Linked DNA regions of Homo sapiens: regions 1 and 3 are each linked to region 2. The links are contacts of gene promoters, found by promoter capture Hi-C in blood cells and fetal thymus (Javierre and others, 2016). All regions are on one chromosome and are shown on one strand. Each heading gives the region's core, a stretch centred on a gene start or on the middle of the fragment in contact. The rest is flanking DNA. Distances are from core to core; before and after follow the strand shown.

Region 1 (3,533 bases), core at 589-3,088, 1.8 Mb after region 2:
CTTTTTACCTATAGTTTTTGGCTATTTTCTGCTGGCAAGAAAGGCCATAGAAACAGAGTCAATTTTGTTTCGTTTTGTTTTCTTTGATAACAAGAGGCAATTGGGGCCGATTCTACAATGATTCCATGTTGACTCACCTCCTGATGGGTGTTGAGAGGAGGTTGCAGTCATGATGGTATCTTGATTCCAGTTCGCTGATGTTTAGATCCTAGTATGACACACATGATGCCATGTGTTTTAACTTTTATTTCCATTGGCAGTCTTTAGGTCTTACAACTTCCTGAAGGTGCAGATTTGGGCAGAAGTAGTACCTTCCCCTCGCAGGTCAGTTCTTGTGTATTCTTGGAGTCATTTCTATTTCTAGAACCTATGTCATTCTTCCAGGCCTTTCCATTATTTTATACATACCTACTTTAATGTTTTCTGTTCCTCCTTAAAATATCTGGGATGGATTCTGTTTCATATAACAAATATAATCTACCAGGATTGCTGACCAGAAAGGAAAAACATAAGTTGGTAATTAAAATCACTTTGCAAATGACCAAGCCATGGCATATATAGAAGGCACAAAGAAATTCGGTATTACTACTTGAAGGGCTGGGGGTGGGTTGGGGGAAGAGAGGCAATCAGTATGACATTTCTTTAATCACAATTGTACAATGTTGAAGCCTTAGCTTAGTAGCCTCAGATATTTGAATTTGTCAAAATATCTGTCAATAATGAGAAACCAACAAAAGAACAGGAAACTTTTCTTTGGGTAGCAAAATGTATCCCAATAAAGAAAATCCATTTGGGAAGCCAACTTATACTCAGAATCTTAATTAGTTCTTCTAGAATCAGAGCACAGGAAGTGACTTCTGAGACTGAATGTTTAGTGGCATTAGCAGTAATATCTGCATTAGGCCCATCCTTAAGCAGGAGATTTATGCTCTGGATGTGTCTCTTTAAGTGGGCCTTGTAATTATGTGTTCTGTTTTGCTGACTTTACTGCATCTGAGTGACATTTTTTTAAAAAAATATGTGTTTATCATTTAAATGTTTCTAGTCTAGCTGAGGAAACATTTTGTCTCTGCTGTATGACAGAGAAGTAGAAGGGGCCAAGTGAACCAGCCACATTCAAAGACACAGGTAAGGTAGAGGAAGATATTATTCTTCCTCTTCCAGTTGGAGACACTGACAGTTGAGAAAAATCTATATCAGGATATAGATATTCCTATATGAGAAATATGAGACTTCATTTCCTAATATGAGATTTCTGGTGAATAGATTAATTCATCACAGCTGTTTTCCATTTAGGAAAAATGTAATTAATACGAGGCTTCCTTCAGCAGCCAATGTGATTAGGACTGTAGAATGACTCGTGATGGATAATCCTGCATAAGTGTTTTGGGTAGTGTGAATGGATTAGAAAGACATTCATGACCGAATCCTTGGTTACCTTAGGAATATTTATTCCTGTGTTTATGCTGCAAAACAAGTCAGAGAAGTAGAGATAGGAAGGGACTCAAAGGTTAGTTGTGAGTGGCCAAGCACTAAACTGTGAGTACACTGAAAGCAGGAATCTGTTTGCACCTTTTCTGCATCCTGCTAACATCTGGAATGGGGCTATATCAATCACTCACAAAATATTAGGTTGACAAATTAATTAGTTAATTAATGACCTGAAAGCTCAGGTGTCTACCACATTACTGATGGTCAGGGTAGATGGGGCTGATTTGGCTGTCCTGGTAGATGGTCTCTCACTATACCCTAGGAAATGAGTTCCATCTTTATTGAAGAAAAGAGAGCTCTTCTGGCTTGTGAAGCCAATGCTGGATTCTTCTTTAACACTCGTATTGAACAGTCAAAACAGTAAGCATGAAAATGCCGTTAAGTAAGTGTGGCATTATTTTTGACAATGATAGTCAATGGTAATTGGGAATTAGTACAAGGAAAACTAGAATGTCTACAAAGAAAGCATACAGACAATCATAATCATCATCATCATCATCCTGCCACAAATTCCCCTGGAAATTTCTGTATAGTTCAGTCAAATTATTGACTCCATCTTCTAGTTCTTTCTGCAGATGCCTGTGTATTTTAGTAAGCAGCCTGTCTTCAGTTGACAGATGTGACTTGCTAAAGCCAACACAATTAATTTTGCCATATTTAGTATTAATTTACTCCAGCTGTTAATTAATTTTCAAATAAGTTTACACGTAGGAAAAAAACTAAAGAAGACTTATTTTCTTTTTAAAATAGTGCCACATTCTTGCAAATCCCTAAGACCATGGCTCATCAGTTAATAGAATAAAATAGGACATGTGATTAAACTCATTAGGGAAAATTCTTTCCAGAATAAAAACTACTATTTATTTGAGATAGTTTACATATATTATCTCTAATTCTTGTAACAACATTGTAAACTATTCTTATTCCTAATTTATAGATAAGGAAACAAGGCTTCAGAAAACTCAAGTGACTCATCTGCAGCCACGATTTGGACCAAAATCTTTAGAGTTTAGAACCTTTGGCTTTTTTACTCAACCAGCAGATCCTTCTTTTAGTGAACTAAAATGATGTACTTAGAAAAAGTTAAAATTTCCTCTGAAATCAAAACAATCTTAGATATTTAACTCTCGTATATGGTTATTATTCAAAATTTTTCTCTTTCATATATTCATTTTCTAGAGTGGACGTTATTTTAAACAAGATTATTTCTGCCTGATAGGTCAAGAATGCATTAAAAAAAAATTCAATGACTACTATATTTAGTTTCTCTGTCAACACAAGTTAATTGAAAAGGTTTCTGCATAATATCCCCAAGTGTAAATTATTTATCAGGGTGGTTAAATAACCCAGTGCCACTCTAGAGTGTTGGTTTCCTGCCAGAGGGATATATATCATCTTTCAGGGGTTTGGAGAAATTGCACAAACAATGAACATGTCTGAGTTAAATCACAATATGGTGATCAAAAGAACCATATTACAGTACCATATAGTAAATGCAACTATTTCTTTTGAAATGCAACCGTTTTAACTCTTCAACATCTGCTGAGAATTCAGTGATTAGACATAACTCTGAAAACCCACTAAAGACTCCAGATATTTAGTATAGCTTTCCCACTATACAACCAATAACACACTTGACATAGCAATATTATTTCATAAAAACTGTCTGAATAAAATTAGAGTTCACAGAGAAAATATTGTATTTTCCTTTTCAAAAACATTATTTAAGGGAATGTCAGCTTATAGACATGATGGGCTAAATTACTTTGACCAATTTTTATTCCAGAACAACTAGAAATTCTGGATGAAATTTAAATAGATTAGATAGATAGATAGATAGATAGATAGATAGATAGATAGATAGATACATAGATACATAGATACATAGATACATAGATAGATACATAGATAGATATCCATATGTCTACTTTTTTTCTTAAAAACATCATAATGCTACAAGCTGGTGAAAAATTTTTAGGTCAAAATCAAGCCAACATGAAGGTGAGAACCCTACCTAAAAGTTAAGAGAGAACGCAAAATCA
Region 2 (3,472 bases), core at 299-2,798:
GGGGAGCAATGAGATGGTTGAAGCAGAGGCCTGAGCGCCAGGAATTGGATTTGCATTTTAGATAGCAGTGAGCAGAACTGATTGGAGGGAGTGAGACTGGAGACAGGAAAGCTGATTAAGAGCCAGCTACAGAAATCCAGACCTGGGAAGCAAGGCTAGCATTAGTGAGGAGGCAGAGGAAGACTGTCTCCAGAATTACTTGGGAAGTAAAAATCTGCGAGGCTTGGTAAGTTATTTATATTTGGAGTCGGGGTAAGAGGAAGAGACAAGGATGGTTCTCAGAGGTGTAATTTGGGGAATGAATAGGTGGTGACACTGCCAATTACAGAGACAGTACAAGAGTGGGGGGTAGGGGATGGGTGTGACTTCAGTTTTTAACATGCTTGGTGACAAGAAAATTCAAGTGAAAATATCTAGAAGCCTGAAATATGAGCCTAAGGTAGGGGCTTGGGATGGATTTCAATGTCAGACATTTTTCAGTAATAGTTAAAAACCGAAGAGCCCATGTGTATTCAACAGGCACTTGCGGGCACAGTGTGAAACAAAACACAAGGTCCTTGCCCTCGTGGAGCTCACAGTCGCCTAGGGAAGACATATATTAAGCAAACTATACGGGAGGCCCTGAATATTTACGAAGTGCAGCATGTCAGGAGAGCCAGGAGCTGTGCAAACAAACCATCAAGAACAAATCGGACACGGTGCCTGTTACAGCTGTGTGACCTGGAGCCGGTTAGGTTAGAATCCTGGAATCACCACTGCTTTGCATGGGGGTCCAGGACAGCAAGGCAGATTTGGAGTTTCCAACTAGCCTGTAAACGGGGAAGGAGAGAGCGCTTAGTACGCGAGAAAAAGAAACAGCCAACGAGTGAGAATCACTGGCCCAGCTGGAGAACGACCTGAGTTTCCTTTGTGTGCACCGGGACCAAGCACTGGGGGCCGACAATTTGCTGAGAGCTGGCTCCACCTGCCTGGGGTGCAACCACGAGAAGAGTGACAGCCCTCTCGCAGGGTACAATCTTCCACCCCCAGATGCATCTCCCTCGTCTGGTTGTGGGGAGGTACAGAGTGAAAGTTAAAGGCCTGAATTAACGTCCGGCTCTTGTGGGCGCCAGCACTCTGGAAGCGAAATGCCAGGAGTACCCCACGGTGGGCGGCGCGGGCGCAGACACCCGCACACCCAGTTGGGGGAAAACAGTGAGCAACCGGGTAGGAAGCCGAGGGTAAGAAGATTCAGAAGGCGAGGCCCCACGCGGGAAGACAGTCGAACACAGCGTTTGGCAACAGTACGCCTGCGCTCTCCGAGCCCGCCGCGGCGGAGCCCAGGAGGGAAGCGCGAGCCCGCAAGGTGAGGGCGGGGGAGGGCACGCCGGAGAGGCGGCCAAACACGTGAGAGCGCGGAGAACGTGCGCACGCGCAGGGCGCCCCCGGCCCGCGCGGCGGCAGCGCGGGAGCAGGGACGCAAGGCATTAAAAGGAGCCGCGCCTTGGTGAGCGCTCCCCCTCCCCTTTCTCCCGGGGTGCACTGCGCGCGCCCGGTGGGCGGGGGGGAGGGGAGGGCAGGCGGCGGTGGCAGCCATGTTGTTGTGAGTCTCTGTGTCTCACCCTCGGTACTTCGGTGGTTCGGAGGAGGAGGGGGAGGAGAAGGAGGAGGTGGGGTGGGGGGGGAGGGTGGTAGGTGGAGAAAGAAGACATTGCCGCCACCGAAGGCGGAGGAGGGGGAGGACCGCCAAGAGCGACGCCGCCGTGTGCCCAACGGTCGGTGTCCCCGGCTGAGGCAGCGCGGCCGCAGCAGCCCTGTAAGTCAGTCCGCGTTCGCTCTTTCTCCGGTCCTTTGGCGCCGTCGAGGATGGCTCCCCAGGCTTTGTGCGGCGGCCTCGGCGGGAGCCGATCGCCAGCGGGAGGGCGGATAGGGCCTGCTGAGTGCCCGGGCCGGTGCGGCCTGGGGCCCGCTCGCACAATGCAGGGGGAGGGGTGCCGGAAGGGGGTGTGCGCGTGCGGGGGAGGGGGCGCCGCGCCGGCCGCTTTCCCGCTTCCTTCCCTCTGCGGGGCCGCCGCCTCGGGGGCGTGGGGCGCCGACCCGGTTCTCCCTCCGATTCGGCGCGCTGGAGGTTAGAGACCGAGCTGTCGGCCCTAGGGTTCGGAAAGAGGGGAGAGGCCGGGTGGCCCCAGAGAAGCATGCGGATTGCAAGTGGGTGAAGAGGAAGGAGTGGGTTTATGAAAACAAGTGTGGGCATTTTCAAAGGCCCGAGTGTGTCCGGGAAAAGCTTGCCGTGGACAGATGTGGGTATGAAGCAGTGACTTGGATTCGCCTTGTTTAGGTTATAGGAACGGATTTCGATATTCAGAAAAATATGTAAATTAAAACCAAAGACAAGATTAGCGGCTTCTACTATTTGAGCAGTAGTTTTGTATCTGAATTGGGTCAGGTTTTGGGGAAAATGTTTAAAGTTTCATGCCCAAACACGTGTAAAAGTTAGTGTTGTTTCTGAAAACACAGCCAGAGAAAACCTACTTAACTTAGCTTTTTATTCTAACATACGTAAACTTTTGAAGAGAGGAATGTATTGCCAGCATATTAGGTGCAATAAGACATCATGTTAGGACTTAGTACTTTGAGATTTTTACTTGTTGAGAAAACGGGGCAGATGTTTTGGTGAAGGAAAACATGAGAAAAATGCTTGTAAACGGTGAAGAGAAATGTAATACCTGTAAAGGTACTGTATGTCAAGAAAACAATTTTAATAAAGGGAGTTACCGAAGGATTTTAAAAGCTTGTTTAATGGTTAGATTTCGTGTTTAACAGGTGACTCTTCACCATGTGACCTGGAGTATTGGAAGATGACTTAAGGAATCCTGTAAATAAAAAAAAAAAAACAAAAATGAGTATTTTCAACTTGTTTCTCTTCCTAGCCTCCTTTTAAACAATGATTTACTTCATTTGCTCAATCATTATGAATAAAAATGATGGCATTTTCCGTGCTGCAAGAATTTCTTTAAAATTCCGATTTTTGGTGAAATTGCATTGTGTAGAATTTTCTTGGTGTGCATGAGGGCAGTTTTTGTATGCAGAAAAGGTTTACGATAATCTTAAAAATAAAATTTTATTTCAGAAACCTGGTTCTTGAGGATTTAAGTCCAGTTTTTAAATTTTGTTTACAGGTCTAGCTATTTTGAGTTATAATTGCCAGTAACTTACGCATTTTCCAGCAATTTAAGCTGTGTTTAACACATGCTTTCCTTAATTTGAGTCCAAAGTTCTCTTAGGTGTTTCAGCATTTAGCAAGATTTCAACTTTTTAAAAGAGCCTAAATTAATTACTGACATTTACTTTGCTCTTACAAAGCTGTCACTTTAGAATAAATTCTCAGGCATTACAAATACTGTATATAAATTACCAAATAATACTTGGATTTTGTTTCTCTCAAGCATTCCATACTTGTTTATGAATCTTTTTTTCTTGTTTGAGACAGGGT
Region 3 (3,331 bases), core at 723-3,222, 1.0 Mb after region 2:
ACGTTTAGGAATATGCTGAAGTGTGTGGATATTCTGACTTGATCCAGAAACAGAATAAAACCAAATCAACTGCTTTCAAAGTAAGAACAATTGCAAAAACAAAAATTTTGAAATACTGAACATAAAGGTTTGAATTGTAAATATTTGTTTCTAGAGAAACAAAAGAAATTGCACTCATTTCTAATTTCAGGGGAAGAGAGCTCAGTGGTAGTTAGGCCACACCGACCTTGTTGGTGTGTTAAAATGGGAATTTTCACATAAGGTTATCTGTATGAGACAAGGAACCCTGTACCACCCCCGTGGTGGGCAGGAACTCTCCTTCCATCTGTAGACTGGTTCTTAGATGTGGCTCAGAACTGACACACACACACAATCCCCGCAGATTTTGTCTTCTATTCATAATCATCAGAGTTTGAAATTAGGGAGTGAGCCAAAACTAAGTATTACAGGTATTTTAGCTGTGGTTGTTAGGTCCTCTCACAATTAGTTGCTAAATATATTTTTGACTGACAGGAAAAAATGTAAAATGTCTAGAGTTTTCTTTGAATCTCTAATATCGACTTATTTCCCTGCTATATAAATTATTCTGAGCAGCATAATGTGTACAGGCCAGAAAGGCATGGCGCCTGAATATCAGTGACCAAGAAAGAATCTTCAGAGCTGCTAATATAACCTCTGAGGAGCCCAGGGGAAAAAATCCATTCTGCCCTTTTCAGTTTGTTGGTTTTATTATTTTTCACTAAGAATGATTGTCCTAGGCCTACCTGACTGACACCAGGTCCATCGAGGTGCTTGGAACACCGCCGCCCCCCCCCAACCCACCCTCCTGCAGACACATAGCAAAGAGAGATGGGTGCACAGCTGGCTTTGGCTTGGTGCCTCCTTTGGCCCTAGGGGTCCACTTACCCCTGGCATAGGAGGCATGCATCTGCATCTGGATCATGAACAAAACTGTCTCACCTTGATTTCAGAAATACGTGCGAGAGTTTCACCCTTTGAGAACCAACCACCCACCTCTCACTTGAGCTCTCCTTAGCTGCTTTCCAAGGAGCCTAGAGTCCCTCACTTTCTCATGAGAATCCTTCCTTCCTTCCTTAGTAAGAGATGATGTTTATTATAGAATGCAGACCTATGGGGAGGGGATATTCTATATAGCTACCATTTGTTGAATCCTTACCATATCTGAAACATTGTGCCAAGAGATTTGCAATCACAAATATTCCCATTTTTTTAAATGAGGAAACTGAGGCTCAGAAGTACATTTTTGTACAAGATAACAAAGTTAGTAAATCATAGAACCAGCCTTCAAATCCAGATTCTTCAGACTCCAAAATCCATGGGCTCCCAGGACCCTGTACTGCCTCCCTGTAACTGAGATTCATTGAGGGGAGGCCCTGGCCTGACAAATGAGGAGTGCTGGGCTCTGACCTCCTGCTGGTGAGGAAGAAAGCAGCTAAGAGGTCCTGGGCTGAGAAAGCTTTGCCTCACCAGGTGCTCTGAGTGCTGGCACAGGAAGGATGAAAGCGGAAGTCCAAGCACAAAGTGGAAGTCTTCCTCCTGCTTCACAGGGTAGCCTTCCGGGGTGTCTCATTCAGGAGGGAGCCCATCCTGGGAGAAGGAAGAGAGCAGAAATGTGGCCAACCCCTGCCTGCACTAGGGACCTCATGCTTGTCTTTCTTCAGAAGAGGATGATGCTTGTTTGAGAGGGTGGCATAGTGTTTATGATGTTATACTGCATTTCTGTTCCTTTCACTAGCTGGAGTATGAGCTTGTGAACCTGAAAAATGTTGGAGCACCTCAGCTGGGAATGTCAAGGGCTAACAGAGGTGGCAGTGAGGCCTCAGATGGGTTTCAGGTTGCCGTCTTGATGGGACATGGCTTAGACTTTCCATTGCCCTTCAGAGTTTCTTCTTTAGCCAGGTTCCTTATACTAATGATCCGTATGATCAGTATGGCTGAAATATAGCTGAAGAAGGCAGTCAGCATATAGTGTCACCCAGACCAGACTTTTTCAGGATGCAGCCTGAAACTTTTTTACCTTCTCAGTCTGGTCCAGGGACTTCTCCAATGTACTTCTATAAAAGCTGTGACTTAACATTTCTGATGCTATATTACAAATATCTGCTTATAGACTGCAGGCTCCTTGAGGACATGAGCCAATTCTGCTTATCTCAGCATTCCCTGTGCCTTTTGTGGCACCTGAGCTTGAGAAGGTGTTCCTAGCTAAGCCGGACTTTGGAGGAGAACAGCCTTGGTCCAATTACAGAAATGAGGAAACTTCAAGGTAAAGAGGGGTGACTGGTTAATTGTGCTCCTGGGAAAAACATGCTTCTGATCATTAGGTTGAGAATGAGAACTGTGTGTTTAAAACTGGAGTAAAAAGAACAATCTACTGGTAGCCCTGACGGCAGCCAGCATGAAGGGGCTGCCCAGAAGGGACATTTTTGGAAGTGCGAACAAAAGCTTTGCTCTAGGACATCCTAGATTGCTTTTCCAAATAATTATAAGATGCGATGAAGGCTGCACCTTTTATTTCCATTTTATTCTGTTTAGGATGAAACATTTTAAATAAAAGTCCTGAAAATTTAGAAGGCAAATAAAGCAATCCTGCTAGTTTAATGAAGTCAAAGCTGTAAATGCAGCTTTTATGGAGTGTCAACCACTCCCTGAGGAACCTGGTAGCTAGAGGGAAAGGAGGGGGAGGGGCATCCTTTGACTCATCCCAAGGGGCCAGAACCTTTTTTCACTTTTCTGTAGCAAGTAGGGCTTCTAGAGAGGAGAGCTCTGCTAGTAAGGAATGATCCAGGGCCCTCTGGCCTGTGAATTTTTCCTTCAAGTGGCCTTACTTTCTTTCTGCATGATGAGACTGGAGGCATGGCATGGCTCTTTGAAAACCACCATCCCTTTGGGTTGGTGACCTTCTCCCTCTGGTACCTGTGTGCCAAGGGGGTGTATGGAAGACAGGCTTCTGTCCAGTGCCCTCTGTGGTATGTGGCCTATCTACAGCACTAGTCAGAATGCAATGGATAGAGGGCCACTCTGTACCCTGGGGTGTTCTTTCAGTAATCCTCTCATCACAGTCACCTCCAAAGGCTGCTCGCCCTGACAGTGGGGATGTGATGGGCAGGCTGTCAAATAGATTGTGAGTGCATTAGCAGGATTAGCAGTGAAGGCTAATATTGTAGCATTTCCAAAGTTCATTCACGGCAGCTGCTTGGCTGCCAAATTGGGCAGGCGCAGGCTTCAGAATTAATGTCACATCTGGGATGGCCCTGATGTGGTCAGAGGCACAACAGTCCCATTGTGTTTGACTTGTGTTTATGTATTTTTA

The links. The method cuts DNA at HindIII sites, captures the fragments that hold promoters and counts their contacts. A CHiCAGO score of 5 or more calls a contact.
Region 1: a fragment that was not itself captured here is called in contact with the fragment with the promoter of PUM2 in region 2 in 3 of 17 cell types (fetal thymus, non-activated CD4 T cells and total CD4 T cells); the score reaches 8.0 in fetal thymus.
Region 3: a fragment that was not itself captured here is called in contact with the fragment with the promoter of PUM2 in region 2 in 1 of 17 cell types (naive CD4 T cells); the score reaches 5.2 in naive CD4 T cells.

Annotation. Positions count from the first base shown.
Region 1 is chr2:18,542,214-18,545,746 of GRCh38, reverse strand. No RefSeq gene overlaps it. Among named protein-coding and RNA genes, the nearest start is that of RDH14, 17 kb to the left of the region's middle. The HindIII fragment of the contact is 5,341 bases long and covers 1-3,533 here.
Region 2 is chr2:20,348,920-20,352,391 of GRCh38, reverse strand. It overlaps PUM2 (pumilio RNA binding family member 2), which reads left to right and starts at 1,548. Exons shown (of 21, transcript NM_015317.5): 1 at 1,548-1,795. RefSeq lists enhancers at 189-818, 1,026-1,115, 819-1,450, 1,451-2,080 and a silencer at 1,276-2,165. The HindIII fragment of the contact is 4,637 bases long and covers 1-2,265 here.
Region 3 is chr2:19,336,782-19,340,112 of GRCh38, reverse strand. No RefSeq gene overlaps it. Among named protein-coding and RNA genes, the nearest start is that of MIR4757, 10 kb to the left of the region's middle. The HindIII fragment of the contact is 986 bases long and covers 1,480-2,465 here.